2 separate regions of the Homo sapiens genome follow, and region 2 is linked to region 1. The links are contacts of gene promoters, found by promoter capture Hi-C in human tissues and cell types (Jung and others, 2019). All regions are on one chromosome and are shown on one strand. Each heading gives the region's core, a stretch centred on a gene start or on the middle of the fragment in contact. The rest is flanking DNA. Distances are from core to core; before and after follow the strand shown.

Region 1 (5,610 bases), core at 1,486-3,985:
CACTCCAGCCTTTCACTTACTAGGGGTGTGACCAATGTAAATGATCAGACCCCTCTTAGCCTTCATTTCCTGAACTGCAAAAATGGTCCAACAATAACCATCTCCTTGGGTTGTTATCAAAATGAAATGGGAACTTGCACATGAAGGGTTGAGCGTGGGTCTGGGCAGGCAGGCATCCCACCAATGGCATTCTGCCCCCTACGCAGTTCACTGTTCCACGTTTCATTCTCCCACACGATTTTCTTTTTCCAGAGGATGCATCTTACACTCTTCTCTACCTTCCCTCCTCCCCAAGAACTTGGCTCAAGGCTGAGCAAACTGCATGCTCCAGAAATGCGGTAATATGGCAACTAACAAAGAGGACTCCTTCCAGTGACAGTCTCCGCGGGCCACTCCACCAAGGTGGAGAAAAGATGGATTCCACCATCACGCACCAAGAAGGCACTGCCGCCTCGCTGCCCCTGCCCCGTGCTCTGGGCACACAGGGCTCCCCCATGGTGGTCAGGAAACTGCCCACACGCAGCCCCTGCCCTGCCTGGCATAAGCCTCGCCCCCAGCAGCACTGGCCTGCCACACCCTACCTCCCACATGCATTTCCTGGGCTATTTGGTCTCTGGTGCTGGTGAATTCCTCCCAACAACAACGTAATTCACCAGGTACTAGGGGCTGCCAGCTCTTCGGGCAAGGAATTCGGCCCAGAGGCTCTGAACAGGCTTCCCAGGGTAGGGCCCAGTGGAATTTGGCAGGGCAGGGGCAAGCGCACTCTGTGCAGAGGGCACGGTTCCGAGGGAAGGAACCTGCAGCAGCTCCATCCTCCTCCTGCTCAGCTGCTGCTGGAAGACCTCACACTGCCTGCCACCCAGATCCAAGCCTCCTCAGGGTGTGGTCAATGCAGTGCCAACGGGAAGGGGACCCTCTGAGGCTATTCATCCCTGGACACAGCCCCAGGGAGGGCCAGGCACAGAGACCAGGAGGAGGAGGGACACTCCAGGCGTCCTTGTCCTCCCTGACCGGGCCTCTCACCAGGCACTTCCAGCCCCCTCTATGAAAAGCTCCAGGGGGAAAGGCCGAGTCAGCACTCTGGCCACAACTCTCTCCCAGGGCCTGGCTTTAAAGTGTGCTCTGGAGCTCTGGGAATGGCCATCCTCCCCACCCCTTCCCACCGCCTGCCTCCTGAGGCCCTGCGCAGAGGAGCAGAGGAAGGCAGGAGTGCGAGGAGGTAGGGGAACTGCCTGTGAGGCCGCCCTGCAGTGGGTTAGGGGGTTACCCGGCCTGGTTTGTGTCTGTCCCACATTCAATGCCAGGTGGGCCCAGAATTGCCCCGGGGGTCTCCGGTTGGTGTGAATGTGGGTCACCGTGGCCCCCACCTTTCCCATCTGGCAGATATGTGTCTTGTGCCTACGTCACGCCAGGCCAACCCAGCAAGCACGGGCCAGGCTGGAGGCCCCAGACTCTCCAGGGGGCTGTCTGGTCCTTGCACAAAACTGCAGACACTGCACGGACTGTCCCCATCCCCCAATTAAACAGCCAGCAGGACCAAGCTGGGCCGGGCGATTCCCCCGGTCACTCCAGACACCCCCACCCCCACTCCCCCAGGAAGTGGATCTTTCCTTTCAACTCTTAGATTCTTGGCGAGGGATCTGTCTGTCCCCACACTTCACTGTTACCCCTGAATAAGGAGCAGGAAGAGAATGGCACAGTTTTGGGGTTTTCTGATTTTTGTTTTGTTTCCTGTTCGTTGGGTTTTAAAATCTTTAGCAGCTCTTTTGCCGCTCAAGGTCTGTCCCCTCTGGAGGGCCACTAGTGTGCCCAGAGCTGCCCACGCTACGCAACATCACAGCACGGCGGCGCCCAGCCTGTTGCTGCGTCCCAGTGGCAGGAGCCTCCTCACAGGGCTGCCGAGCTCACGCGGGGCGGATGCCGCGCGCCACAAGCCTCCTTGAAGACTAAGTGTGGAAAAGAAAATATCAACGCCCACGAGATGCAGGGGGCGGGGGGAAGGTGGGGGAAACGAACCCTCGCGGATAGTTGGAAAGCCGTCCTAACGCATCAGTCCTGGGGCAGAGCGAGGAGACTGGGCCCGGGAACTCCCGGACAGAGAGCCCTGGCTCCCCGGGCGCGCCCTGCAGGTCCCCTGCCGAGGACGGGCCGGCGCCGGGTGGTCCGGGAGCGCGGTGCGCGGGGGTCCTCAAGAGCCCACCCGCTTCCTCCTAGGCTGCTGGAGTCCCCCGGGCTCCCCTCCCCCGCCGCCCGCCACATCTGGTTCCACTCAGGTCCTCCCCCACCTCTAGGCGCGCTCCTCCTCCCCTCTCCTCCCCCGCTTTCAGAAAAGCGGAGACGAGTTTTAAAAACCCAGTCACACACACACGCACACACGCTTCTGGAGAAAAGAGGGGGGAAAAGGAGGGAAAAGTCGAGAGCGGCCCGCGCCTCGGCGCTCCCCCCGCCCGGGCCCTGAAGTTGGCCAAGTTGGCAGCGCCTTACCCGGGAGGGCGGCGTCCCCAGGGGCGCCGGGACGGCCGAGGTGCAGGCACCCGAGGAGCAGGACGCAGCGCAGCAGGTGACGAGGCCAGGGCGCGGGGGCCGGCCGGCCGGGCCCCATCCCCGAGCGCGGCGCTCAGTGGACGCGGGGACCGAGGGCGCACAGGCGCAACGCGCTGTGGCAGCCCCGAGGCTGGGCTGTGATGACCGCCCGCAAGGGGCTCGCGTCCTCCTCCGGGTCGGGACGAAGTGATGCCTCCCGGGGAGGAGGAGGGAGGAGGCAGCCCGGGCGGAGGGAGGGCGGAGGGAGGAGCGCAGAACCGGGGAGGAGGGTTCGAGGGGTAGAGGGGAAGGGAAGTGGGCAGCGTGGGAGGGGAAGGGGAGGAGGCGCGGGTCTGGGGCTAGAGCGTCGGGAGGGAGAGAAAGGGGTGGCGGAGAGGAGGACACGCCGGGTCCAGGAGGACCCCAGCGTGCGCCCTTTCTCTTGCTGCTCTGTTTCCCAGTCTCTCCCCGCCTCGCCTTCCCTCTCTTCTGTCCCGGCCAGGATCCCCAGACGCTGCGTCACAACTCCCCCGCTGGCGCGGGCGGGGAAGCAACTGCAAAACTTTCCGCAAACTTCACGGCGTGGTGGGACCTGGGCTACGAGGTCCGGCCAGCCCGGGGCGGGGGCGTGCAGCTGACCCAGGTGGCCAGACCCGGGCCGCCAGCATCCGCCCCGCCATCCCGCCTCTTTCTGCGGGCGTCTCCAGCAGCCTAGCATCCCCTACCTCCATGCCGAGGAGGACCCCTCCCCCGGTCTGGTGGGGAAGGGGCGGAGCCCAGGGCCTGGCCACCAGGGCGAAGATTGGGGGAGGGGGAGGCAGAGCCCTTGTTACGTGTGCGGAGCGCAACAATTCTTGCACGTCTTGTTTTAGCATTTTCGTGACCCCTGTGTCAGTGTTCCCGGTGCAGGAGTGTAGCACTTTTGCTTGTTGGGGCTGCATCCAGAAACCTGGGGAAAATCTGTCCACTGGACGTCTCAGAAGACCGGCATCATCACTCCCACCAACTGGACTGCTGGCCGGTAGCAAAAGACCAGCTGGAAATTTCATAAAAGGTTAGACAATCCACAGTTACTCAGTGTTACGCAACAGGTCTCTGCAGCACAGAGCACGAACTGGGGAGTCAGGATGCTGGAGTCCAGCCCTGCCTCTCTGCGGATTCCCTGCCTGACCTTGGGAAAGCCTCTTGGGGTCTCGGGGCATAGGGCAGGACTGAGACGTTGAGACCCCAAGTGCAAAGAAGACACATTTCTCCTACCACGAGTAATCAAAAACACTATGAAACTGTAATATGGGCCGGGTGCGGTGGCTCACGCCTGTAATCACACTTTCGGAGGCCGAGGAGATTGAGCCCAGGAGTTGAAGACCAGCCTGGGCAACATAGGCAGATCCCATCTCATTTTGTTAATATAAAATTTTTAAATAATAATAAAACTGTAATATAAATTGTATTGTTTCCTATCTTGTCCACCTTGGTATGTTTTTTGGAAATAAATTCAATTTTTTTCCTTTTTATTCCTCCTATCTTGGGTAAATGTTTCCCCAACTCTGCAGTGGGGGTGTTGGGTCAGAAATGCTCACTCGTCTCTTCCCATCTCTGTCAGGCTGAGGCTCTTGGTAAACAGTCCAGTGGTAATAGAGCCTCGAAGCAAGCCCCCACTGAAATCCCCTAGAGGCCCCTGGAAAGGGTCCCATTAGCCACCCTTTGGTTAGCAGCCAGACCAACAAAGCCCCTGCACTCCACGGCTAGCTTCAGCAGGTCCGACAGGGCCAGGTCCCTTCTGGTGGCTGTGGCTCCACTGCCCCTTGGGACATGTCTTCTTGGTGTGGCATGTTCTGGGATCTCAGTCCTCTGCACACAACAGGCCATGCTGGAGCTGCCTCAGAGGTCCCCCTCTTGGCCTTCCCTCTTGCACAATCCTGTAATCTCTGAAGGATTTAAGGATTTGCCGGCTAAGCTGCTCTCTCGCTCTCAGAACACAGGATACTCCTTCCCCTGAAACAGGGCTGGATTCCCCCTTCTCCAGCAGCTTGAGTAGGTTTCGGCGTTTCCTGCTGGCCTTCCCTCCTACTATCAGTGGCAGGACAGAAGCCCACCCCTTGACATCACCAGCGCAGAGCATGAGGCCAGAGAGCCCACCACTTGCCGGCACCAGGTCCCGCCATGCCGGGCACACAGGAGGTGTGCTCTCGTCTCTTCACCCACCGGCTCAACAAGCACCGACTGCTAGCCCTGTGCTAGCTGCTAGAGAAAGAGAGATGGGCAAACACAGTTGCAGCCCTAGAGGAGCCTCATTTAGTGGGGGAAAATAAACGTTTTGCCATATTCCAGGCAAAGAAGACGCAAGGGCTGAGGAGCACAAAAGTGTGCTGCTCTCGCAGGGACAGAGGTTGGTTCAAGCTTCTAAGGCCCAGTTCTAGTCTCTGTCAAGGGTGAGACTTCCTCCTCCAGCGCGAGACTTCCTCCTCCAGCGCGACATGGTTCCACACTGTGTTCCACTGACTTCTGCTGATGTCTGCAGCTGCCAACTGCTTTTGATCTTGACTTTGGGGCAGAAAGCGGGGAAACATCTGGGAGATTCTCCCTGTGGAGAATCCGGGCCGGTTCCCTACTGCATAAAGATCCTGTGCAGGCTCAGTTGTCAACAGAACATGGTCACAGTCTGTAGGAGTGTTGGGTGTTGTGAGCAGCATGGGACTTTCGAGGAACCCCTCATCAACACCCAGACCTTCATCTGCTTCCAAAGAAGGGCCAGCGTCCTCTGTGCCCACAGCCTCCTCACCATTCCTGTGCCCACAGTTGAACAGCCGTTTATTGAGGGTCAGTATGTGTCAGGCATCAGGCTAGATGCTGGAGACTTAGTGAGGTCTCTGACTTGTCCAGGGGATTTTTGCCAAGATGGTATTCGCTATCGTGGAACTGAAGCTGAGAATGGTTCTCCCCTAGACACTGACCAACTGTCAGCCAGCAACAGGTACTGAGGGTGATATGGTTTGGGATCTGTGTCCCCGCCCAAATCTCATGTCAAATTGTAATCCCCAGTGTTGGAGGTGGGCCCTGGTGGGAGGTGATTGGATCACGGGGGTG
Region 2 (5,610 bases), core at 1,563-4,062, 490 kb before region 1:
ACCCTGTCTCAATCAATCAATAAATCAATAAGAGCAACTTAGGAAGACAAGTAATTGAAAGAATAAGACTAAATGAAAATATCTTTTTCTTTTTTGAAGTGGCTGAAGATCACTACAAATATCCTAATTTTGAAAAACCAAGTTCCTACTTTCAAGACATTTCTAAGTTACCATGGTTAGCTGAGGAACTAAAAAGAGAAAATAATTAAAAGCCAGAAAACAAAGAGTCTTTTAAGAAAAGTCAGTATATAAAATCAATATATCTTGTTGATAATTACCAAATGATCTAAAAATACAAGTAAACAAAGGTAAATTTCTAATTTAGTCTAAACTCAACTGAGAAAATAAGACAATAAATATCATAACTTGCAAATTGTGTTGTTAAAAAAAATTCTTAAACTAAGAAAGTCCATTTGTAAACACTCCAGTTAATGAAATAACAAGAATGATTTTATGTATTAAGAAAGCTTGTTTACAAAATTCTAGATTTCCATATTGTTATTTTTTAAAAAAGGTATTTTATTTATAAGGATACTGCAACAGGAAGTAGAGCTCTATTCTGGAATTGCAATCTAACAGGAGAGACAATCTAACCTTCACATTTACATTGAAAAATTGAGTTTTTAACAGGCTTCTCTGCAATGCATATTCTTTTTTAAAATATAAAACCATTTCAAAAGGTTCATATATGCATATAAATATATAAAGCAAAAGAACACACAATTAAAAATTAAATAAATGTGCCAAAATACAGCTTCTTAATGGCTTCCTTGAAAACTAGATGTCAAATTATCTTAGGCTGTGTTTATTTTTCTATAAAGAACAAAGTAGACTTTACAGCTCAGAAATCCACGTAACAAATACTCTACTCATCATACTCACAGGTTTTAGTTTTTCTTCCTCACTAGTCAATACTACAGAGTCTTTTCCCCTAGAAAAGCTGAAAGGCTTCTTATTCACTGGTCATGTTGTTATCAGACCTGACACATCAGGAATGACCCACACTTTAATCTCCAGCCAGCTCTTTACGCTGCCCAGAACTTACTGTGCGTTACAGGTGATACTTCTTATAGCAGATGTTGATTATGGTCCCAAAGCACAAGAGATGCTCCCAAAGGGGTTTAGAACCCCTAACAACATCACCTGCTTCTTTTTGTATCCAGAGAAGCACTGTGGTATTCTGTTTTGAACAACTAATGATTTCAAGAGATTACACAGACGAGTTCTTTTCATTAGATTGGTTGACATAAGCTTGTCCTTTCAGAATACTGCAGCAAATATAGGTTGTATGATTCCATTAGGATAAAAGAAATATTTTTACACAATTTTTCTCTGTGGCGCAGTTTAGTTCACCCTCTGTTAGAGCAAATTACTGGAAGAACTGGTTCTTAGGTTTCTAATGGCGCAGCGTTAACAGAGTGAATGATTCACGGATGTTCTTCTTAACATTCAGGAGTAACAAGGAAGGCTAGCAGTGCAGCCCAGGTCCAGAGCTGATGAATGGTGCAGTGCTGCTGTTGTCATAGCAACCAAGAGGAAAAAAGCAGCACCATATAAGGATCTGTGACATGGATTCTGGGAACAATTTATATTAAAAAGCTGTAAGCTCCTCATGCCTTAAAGCTGTAAACTCCTCTCTTACTGTTTCCTTCTCATGTTTTGCTCTTCTGATTTTCTGAATCAGAGCTGTGTGAATATACGCTGTAAAACAGTTACTTAGTAGGCACCAACAAAAAATGCAATTGAGGTAATTTAAAATATTAATACTTTAGCAAGCTAATATAGGTCTGCAGTATCTCCATAATTTATTAAGTGTTAAAATTATACAGTGATTTTGTTGCAATGTAAGGAACTGTCTAGAGTTTGAGATAGCAGAAAATTCATTTTTAAATACTTAGAGATATTAAAACCCTAATTAAATGCCTTTCATTCAGATGGTATGCATCAGATATGCCAAAACTGCAGCACTATCAACTGATTGACTAATAAAGTAGCAATGACACCAATTTCAAAGAGAGGCATACTATCACCTGTATTCCTTCTAGATAAAGAAAGTTTCAAAAGACACTTACTTCACTAAAAATGCTCATAGCCTTCATTCATGAACAAGAAAACTTCTCCGTCAATCACTTGTAAGACAGGGTTACTGGTCCACTCCATGCTTCTAAAGGCCTCTCCCTAACTGGGCCTGGACAATCGTTTTCTTGTCATAGTTTTCCCTCACCTCCCAGGAATTAGGAAGAGCTCCCCCTTCCAGGGGATAGTAGGATAGCTTCCAAACGGTATCACAGGAGAAGAGGGAGCCAGTGAAAGCACCAATGCATAGAATTGTCGTAATGGTACTCTCTCTATAGTCTTCTGGATGTTGCTCTGAGATGACTGGTGCAGAAAAATATCTTTCATTAGATTTATTAAGCATGGGTCACTGATGCTATGATATTTCATCTATTTATATAGGGTAGTTCTATATGAAATTGTTCTATATCATATCTCTGTGTTACTTTTCCATCACCATTTATTTAATGCAATATTCAGATACAATACAAAGCAAAATATTAGGTAAATTTACCTATTATACCATTCTCTTACATGGGCAACACTGCCATTATAATACCAATTCTGGAAAAGTTACGTATTTGTTGGTCATAGATTTATGATGCATTTATCTCCATAAATGAAGAACCTCAGTAAAATGTGACTAAAAAGAATTGCAATGTAGTGGGATGGACATGCATTTGACTAGTCTTGACTGTAGTTGGACTAACAGCTTTGCTACTTCTAAATATAACCCTGAGTAAGGCACCTAACTACTCTGACCCACTGATTCATCTCAGTAAAGCATTTTCTACCTTATTCCTAAAGCTACTGTGGGAATAGAAAAAAATAAATACAAAGCAAAGGCTTAAAATTCTAAACATCTATATTATCTTTTTTAATAGTATCTAAGCAAAACAGCAAAGAAAAATGAAAAGTGGAATTTCAATAGAACTCCATAAACACAGAAAATTGCCTGAAAGGGTAAATATTTTTCCAGGCTAGGTTTTATGTTTGACTGGATATTGTGTCCCATCACACTGCATATACTTTTCACAAGTAGCTAGTAGCTATTTCTTTTTAGAATTATAGTAGATACAGATACTGCGGACTAGCGTTCAAGGATTATTTAATATAATAATGTACAAGTAATTCTACTGCCTCAACATGACTTATAAATGTCTTCAGAAAATAGTAACTTGGTAATAAAGAAGTATAAGTGGTTTCTATGGAATGGTTAATATCAAAGAACATGCAAAGTGATTGAGTTGTTTAAAATAACCTATTACTTTTTATCCTACCTAACTAGAAAACTGTAGGGCAAACTCAAAAATGAGCTATTATGTTTGACTTGGAAATTCCATGGACAGCCTATCTCATTCTGTTTCCTGGATAATCTAATCTCTTCTACCTAGTAAGTTTTTTAACTCAAATATTGTCTTGTGCCAGTAGTTATTTTTGAGGGAAATTCTCTTCAGTTGTGACTTTTTAGAATACTAATTATTCAATATCTTAGGTAAAAAGAGCAACTTTCTCTCCCACCTCCCCATCATCAAGTCATGTTGAGCAGATCTTTGCATTAGAGAGATACCAGAAAAGTTCTGCAAAAAATGTAAACTTGGACAACAAATAATTTTTTCTAACGTTGCTTATGCTGTGTAGGAGCTAACTGGGATGAGGACATGATTAAAATACTTCAAAAGACAAAGTACACAGGTTTTGTTTTGCTTGAAAAATTGGATTTAACTTAAGGGTGGAGAGAGATTTAAGGAGTTAAGCTCTTCCCCTTGGTTACTAATTTTTAACTCCTTTATGATTAATTTAGGTAAGTCATGCTAAAACTTATACAGTTTTACATTCTTTTTTATTTTTATTCTTTTTTCAGTCTTGCTATATTAAAAGCTTTCTCTAAGGAGTAATCATCCGTGCTAAACTCTATTGTGCTTAAAGGTAGGGTAATATTTATGAAGAGATGTACATACGAAATCTCTATTCTCACAGGAGTTAAGAAAGTAACCATTCTACTAGCTATAGCAATTCAAGCTTTGGCCAACTTTCTACGCGGGGTTGTGTCTTTCCTAGCAATGGCTACTGCTTCAGATCAGGACTTCAATCTGCAGCAGTAGGGTAATGAGTGACAGAGAAGAAAAAGAAATATATTCTTAAAAATCATATATGTGATCCCTATACATCAGCCAACTACTTCATCTGGTGGTCAAAGAAAAAGAGAGTAAAGAGTAAAATAGTTACAACTCTAAAGGATAAACTGGCAGGGTTGGATATACTGAGAAGCAGTATTTCTGTTTAATGAATGTCGTGAATGATATGTAATGGATTTCTGAGGATAATTTTCTTTATACTCAGTTTTTATTTTATATGTTGACTTTACTATCTAAACCCTGAATAAAATTATCCCAAATGTGTGATGCTACCTCTAAATGATAATTGTAACATTTGAAAAAGGTCATGAGTTGGCAGGTGGTTCTTTCAGAATGTTTTTATTGATAAGCAGGGCATAAAAGGGCATACTGAGCCATAAGATACACATATCAAATCTCCTTTCTCTCACTTTACTTACTTCATTAATCTAAAGTTATAAAATTTACTGAATGATATAGATGTATACATAATTTTTTCTAAAAATCGTTTTCAGAAATCAGAAACATGAACATTAACCAGAAATGGGGAAAACAGAGATGTTCAACCAACTCTGGTATAACTCAAAACACTGCTCATTGTGCTATCTAAACAAAGTCATCAAAACAGATAATACCACATAGACAATTCTAAAATGACCATATTTCTTGGCTGGGCACAGTGGTTCACACCTGTAATCTCAGTGCTTTGGGAGACCGAGGTGAGAGGGTTGCTTGAGCCCAGGACTTTAGACCAGCCTGGGCAACATAGCAAGACCCCATCTCTACAAAATAATGAAAAAATTAGCCAGGTATGGTGGTGCACGCCTGTAGTCCCAGCTACTCAGGAGGCTGAGGTGGGAAGATCTCTTGACCCCAGGAGGTTGAGGCTGCAATGAGCAGTGATTGTGCCACCACACTCCAGTCTGGGTGACAAAGCAGGACTCTGTGTCTTAAGAAAAAAATAAGTAAAATGAAATAACCACATTTCTTAACTTTTGAAATTCTGCCCACGACATGAATGACTGACGGACAAGGTAAGGATGCGCATTTACAATTAAGAAAGGCCAGCTGAACTGAAAATGTCCTCTGGAACACTCTGCCCTCTGGTGTTTAAAATCCTCCTCTAAGAGAGGGAGTTACTCTGCCATGCCACGTGTTTATTACTCTTATGGGCTGAATGTCAATTTGGGTGCATAATTTTCTATAATGAGAATAAATATATAGTTTAGCATTATAAAAATTTCTGTTGTTATAATGTGAACATATATTCTGTTCTAAGCTTTATATTATCCCATACTATAATTTATTTCCTGTTTAGAGAGTTACTAAGGCTTTCTTTTGAATCGTGGATATTTATTTGACTTTTGTGATGCTTTGTGACTGAAAAGTATTCCTCATGGCCAAAATTGTTTAGCCCTTAAATTCCACATTTGCCACT

The links. Contacts are between HindIII fragments. The study calls those that stand out against the background at their distance.
Region 2: a contact is called between a fragment that was not itself captured here and the fragment with the promoter of MRC2 in region 1, in 1 of the 25 tissues and cell types used here (dorsolateral prefrontal cortex).

The regions. Positions count from the first base shown.
Region 1 is chr17:62,624,795-62,630,404 of GRCh38, reverse strand. MRC2 (mannose receptor C-type 2) reads right to left here and starts at 2,735. Exons shown (of 30, transcript NM_006039.5): 1 at 2,485-2,735. The coding sequence starts at 2,602. It overlaps LOC107985020 (a long non-coding RNA gene), which reads left to right and starts at 2,355. Exons shown (of 2, transcript XR_001752961.3): 1 at 2,355-2,560; 2 at 3,396-3,968. RefSeq lists silencers at 2,106-2,175, 2,376-2,815 and enhancers at 4,009-4,509, 4,510-5,010. The HindIII fragment of the contact is 9,538 bases long and covers 1-5,610 here.
Region 2 is chr17:63,113,038-63,118,647 of GRCh38, reverse strand. The region is part of intron 4 of TANC2 (tetratricopeptide repeat, ankyrin repeat and coiled-coil containing 2); the gene reads right to left. Among named protein-coding and RNA genes, the nearest start is that of TANC2, 150 kb to the right of the region's middle. The HindIII fragment of the contact is 3,905 bases long and covers 860-4,764 here.